Linked DNA regions of Homo sapiens: region 1 is linked to region 2. The links are contacts of gene promoters, found by promoter capture Hi-C in blood cells and fetal thymus (Javierre and others, 2016). All regions are on one chromosome and are shown on one strand. Each heading gives the region's core, a stretch centred on a gene start or on the middle of the fragment in contact. The rest is flanking DNA. Distances are from core to core; before and after follow the strand shown.

Region 1 (2,700 bases), core at 63-2,562, 2.7 Mb before region 2:
AACTTAAATATATTATCTCTAATACCTCACAAAAACATCAAAGGATAAGGTGTTTTTACTCCCATTTTATAGAAGAGAAAGCAGCTGCAGGGGTTAAGACGTGTTCAATATTACATAGTGAATACATGAAGAAACCAGGACTTGGGCCCGTGATCTTTTTATTAAAACACTTTCAGAAGCAAAATAAACTTAATCCATAACATTTTTCTCTTCTAATCATATCTAAATATGATTCCTGCTTTTATTATCCATAACTTCACATCTAGTTGCATTTTACAATGAAAAACTTAGCTATCAATATATACAATCAAAAAGGTAACCAAAAAGAGAAAAAGGAAATCTAAAATTTAAATCAATGCTAATGAATGACAAACACTTTAGTCATTGTGTAACTCCCTTGGTTTGAATTTAAATAATGTCATGTATAACGACTGGGTTTCACAATTCAGGAATAAATAGAAGTCAAATTTTAGGCAGCCCACTCAGATTCTAATTAAATAGAAAAAACAAGTACAAAGGAACTAAATTATTTTTAAAAAATACTCCTATCAGAGTTCAACTTCAAAAAGATATTTCATGAACAGACAGTACAGCCTGTAAGATTCCATCTTTCTCAAATTACTCTGATGAACGTCTGATAAAACTTGAGATTTACCAAGGGATAAAAAGAAGAAGCAGCCAATAATTCTAAATGAAAACTCAGAATGGTCTTTTGTTCTCTTTGTTTAAAGTAAAGCCACTAGTGAAAAACAAGAATGTCTACTTAGGAAAAAGGGGTCTCTTGTTTGAACAAAAATTAAATTTAAATGTCCTGTTTCTTACCTGAACATTTGAAATCATCTACATCTGTCTAATGTTCACTAAAAGACTATAGAGGGCACTGTTGCATCAGCTTTGAAGCTTTACAATAGAGGCTGAGAAAAAGAAAACTGTCTATAACATGTAATTTCTCTAAAGGGTCAAATGCATGGAAATCTACTAAGCCTGATATAAAGGGGAAAGAACTAAAATGTATGTTTTTCTAAAACAGGCTGGACTTCAATGGGGGAAAAAACTTAACAAAAACAACTGTCAAATAGAGAAGACTGCACTGCACACATTTTGCATTTCCCTTTGTAGTGCTTTCATGAGAAAGGTAAGTAATCATAGCACCTCCTTATCCATTGGAAACAGCACCCCACTGCAGAATCCTCTTTACAATCAATAGGCAACTGAATGTGGCACCTCATGCAATTCTTCCATAATTCTATCAACAGAAAGAATGCAGTCTGTTTGCATACTTTTGTCTAAAAGACCAATTCCATTTGTCCCTTCTTGGATAAAATGACAGCTACAGATCAATCACTCTCACGTGAAAGTAAACATGCTACAAAAAAAAACAAAAAAAAAACAAAAGAAGAAGAATCAAAACTGAAATCCTCGCCTATTTTAAGCATAATTTTATTACACATAAAAACTCAAAGTAAAATAGAAAAAGCAAGTTTTTCCTCATAGACATGCATTTTGTGCTATTATACAACAGTATCAGGATGTAAAATAAATAAGTTACATCAAACAATAGTCATGAATCTTACCTTTACATATGGACAGCACTTAATTAAGTTCCATATATTTTCTATTCTCTCACATAATTCCTGTTACAATTCTTTGAAATTAAATCCAATTAAGTACAGTGTCAAAGGTACTTTCAGTACATATATACAATAAGACTAGCATACACAGCATAAAGCTTCTTATAATACTACCATTTAATTTTTTTCCACTAAAAATAATGCAAAAGTAAAAGGGAGTTAAATTATCTCATTTTGGTAATTTGAAAATAATATCCTGAATTGCTGAACCTCTGTAGAAACATGGACATTAGCTGTGAGAATTATAATATGATCAAACCAAGTAGAATATGTACAATGAAAAAAAAATCCTCCATTAATGTATATCTAATCATACCACCATATCACATATTGGATAAATCCACATTAATACAGGTACCATAATAAAACTAAGGCCTCTAATAAAGGAACCCAAATTCCCTGGAAAAACAGTATACAACTCATTTTGTCACTCTCAAAATTCCAGAGAGATTAGCACCTTCTCTGAAATCAAAGTGCAGAACTGTGAAAGTGTTACAAATTCTCCAGTAATATGTCAACCTACTCATAAATCAAAAGGAGGGGAAGGGGCTTTAGATGGTATGTAGATTTCATTTTATTACAAAAGCTCCAGTTTAACAAGTTATTTTCAGCCAATAAAAGTCAAAAAGTAAAGCAATGCTAAAGTGGCTAGTACTGACTCTGAGGCTTTACTTTTTAACTGAAATGCTACTTGAGTATTGCTCCCTTAAATTATTAATTTATGGGTTTTGCTTAGTTTCCTCCTAAGGCAAGGCAGTTCTAGTCACAGGTACATTGAATGCATGTAAATAAACAGAAAGCTTTTATAATGGTCCTGTAATTCACTAAACATAATAAACAACCTTTTTTAATGAATGTTGAATGTACAATCCTATGAACCAACTTTATATAAATAGACTATATCATCTAAAGAATCTGTAAGATCCTCTAGGAAGTAAATGAACAAATTCAGAAAAATTAAACATAGGCTGATTGCTTTTCATTGATCTAACAAAATTAATGCTTACAACAGAATCAAAGTGCTGATAGGACTATGAAGAGTTGTGTTCAATTTTGAAGAAATCTAAGA
Region 2 (2,700 bases), core at 81-2,580:
TTCTCTCTCTCTCTCTCTCACACACACACACACACACACACACACACACATACACTTCGTGCATGCAGCTAGGGGACTGCAGCAGTGCAACCAGGGGGACAGCAGGAGGAGCTCTCTTTGCAGTCCCTGCTTCTAACCCCCACTAACTAAAGATGAACTCATGCCAGTTCCATTCTTTGCTCTGCAAAGAAAACACACACACACACACACACACACACACACACACACACACACACACGGCAGAAGAGAGTAGCCTCCAGATTTCCCCTCTGAGCACACTGTCTTTCTAGCCTCTTCGTTCAAGCAACCCGGATATTCCAAGCAGAGTAACGGGGAGTAACGCGCCACAACAATGCAACCTCCCTAGCAGCTCCCCTCGCAGCTCCCACCCCCGCCCCCTTTCGCGGCGTGCCAAGAGTTTGGAGCGCGCGCACGCACACCGAGCACGGTGCAGGGAGGATATCCCTCCGCCTCCCTCCCCCTTTCTCCGCTAAGTGGCTCGACAACGATTTGGGAAATGAAGGGAGGAGGGAACTACTTTCCTGAAACTTGCTATGCTGCACATGACTTCGAGTTGCAGTGATTCGCCCGGAGGCCGCGGCTTTTAGTCCTACCCACACACCCTCACAGCCTGGGCACCCCGCTCGGCAGCCCCACCCCGCGCCCGCTCTGGCCTCCGGGGAAAGCGGGCGGCCGGGAGAAGTCGCGAGGGACTACTTCGCCTCCTTCTCTCGCGGGCGCCCCCGGTTCGGGCAGCGGCTGCGGCGGCGGAAGGAGCGGGCGGCGTGAGCGCTTCCGCCGCCCCCCTCGCGGCTCCCCTCTCTCGGGCGTGAGGAGCTGGCCCGCTGAGCTGCTGGTGGGCACTGGCTGGCGGGGAACCTGCAGCCGCTCTTGTCCTCTCCCGCCGCTTCTCGGGATCCTGCCCCCCGGACCCGGGCCCGCCCGCTCTTCTCCGGCCGGGTGGGAACGATCGGTTTGCCTGCCCCTCGCCTCACACGCTCCCCGCCGCCCCCTCCACCCCCCTGAGGAGGAGTCCCGGCTGGAGCGTGTCTGGAGGAATCCGCCGCCGCGGGGCCCCTAGCCCTGCTCTGCCGGCGCCTGAGGACCGACCCAGACGCCGCCGGGGGTTGAGGGGCAGCCGGCGGCGAGGCGGGAGATGGTGGGGTGGGCTCCGGCAGGACCGCGCCGCCGCTGCCCGGAGCCTGGGCTCGGCACCCCCCCGCCGGCCCCCACCGAGCGGAGCTCTGCTTCCTCCTCGCCGCATCCCTGAGGGAAGCGCCGCCTCTGCTCCCGGGTTCTCCGCCCGCCGACTCCTTCCTGGCCGGACCCCGCTGCGCTCCACCCCAGTGGCTGGAGGAGCAGCTCTCCAGTCAGCCTTTGCAGCCCCTCTCTTTTTCCCTTTCCACCGGGCCTCCTCGGATCCCTTGGCTGGGCACTGAGGCGGGGGAAGAGGCTGGGGTCGCCACGGCGGAGGTTGCTGCCGCCACCCCCCTGCGGGGGTGGCCGGGGTTCCCGGCTGGGGGGGTACCGTTCTGGGTGAGGCATCCACCATGGTGAGGCCCCTGTGCCGCTGCCCCCGCGCCCCCCCGGCCGCCGCTGCCTCCTGCCCCTCGGTGCTGCTGTTGCTCCCCCGCCTGCTGTTGCTCCTCCATCTCCAGATCGGATCACGGTGAGGGAAAGATGAGCGAGGAGACGGCGACTTCTGACAACGAGTAAGCGCCTCATTGATCTCGATTGCTAATCCCCCTCCCCCTATCCGCCCTCGGCTCTCCCCCAGACCCATCCGAAACTTGGGTGCCGGAAAGCTTGCGACCCTGGAGAGTTCGGTGCATCTTCTGGAGATAGCTGATTTCTTTAGCCATTTTTAGTGGCAGCACCCCTCCCCATCCTCCCACATTTAGCTGCTTTCTTTTGGGGTAGGGGATTAAGTGTTGGGAGAGGATGGCAATTGTACGTCTATGAGAGGGAATAATGTGGATGGATGGAAGTGGAGTAGAAACTACCCCTTTGCCTGTGAGACCCCTGTCCCGTCCTTTTTCACTCACATACCAGTCACCATACCTTCAGTATCCATCCTACTTCCTTTATAGCTGTTTCACTTGGAAACTAATGTGTGGGAGCACCTCCTGCAGCAAACTGCTCTTGAATCTTAATTCGATGAGTCAGTGACTCTTAAATACCGATTAAGCCTTCACCCTCTCCCCCCTCCCCCTTTTAAACTTATGACCTGTAAGATTCTTGTAAAAAATAGGGTTAGGGAAACATTTTTAGAATTTAATAGGATTAAGGACACCTGGAGTGTGGGCGATGTTGAGCTAGAGTTTACCTTTGTGAATATTGGACGTGTCTTCAGGAACGGAGAAGAATTTTGAATGCTAATTTTTACCTTTCAGCTATGTGAAAACACATGATTTACGTTGATGTAACCGAATTTACATTGCTGAATATGTTGGTGATTTCATTAACTTTTAGAGCATTCCGGTTTAAGTTTTAGCTTATTTGGGCTTTCTCCTTGCTTTCCAAACGAAATACTTCGTCTTTTAAATGTTTTGCTTTAACGTGACAGCTGCGTGGAGAAATAATGGTTGGCAACACTTTTCTATTGAGAAGGGATTTAATTCCAAGCAGAATATTAGCATCCGTTTTCTTGTAATTAAGTTCAACTTTTGTTTATCTTCGGAGGGTTGGAAAGAGTTAAGT

The links. Contacts are between HindIII fragments. The CHiCAGO score rates a contact against its expected background, and 5 or more counts as called.
Region 1: a fragment that was not itself captured here is called in contact with the fragment with the promoter of SPRED1 in region 2 in 5 of 17 cell types (total CD4 T cells, naive CD4 T cells, naive CD8 T cells and 2 more); the score reaches 10.9 in total CD4 T cells.

What each region holds. Positions count from the first base shown.
Region 1 is chr15:35,518,851-35,521,550 of GRCh38, forward strand. All of the region lies in intron 3 of DPH6 (diphthamine biosynthesis 6), which reads right to left. Among named protein-coding and RNA genes, the nearest start is that of DPH6, 26 kb to the right of the region's middle. The HindIII fragment of the contact is 829 bases long and covers 899-1,727 here.
Region 2 is chr15:38,251,506-38,254,205 of GRCh38, forward strand. It overlaps SPRED1 (sprouty related EVH1 domain containing 1), which reads left to right and starts at 1,331. Exons shown (of 7, transcript NM_152594.3): 1 at 1,331-1,712. The coding sequence starts at 1,681. RefSeq lists silencers at 681-980, 991-1,040, 1,141-1,240, 1,421-1,480, 1,491-1,540 and 1 more. The HindIII fragment of the contact is 4,356 bases long and covers 1-1,803 here.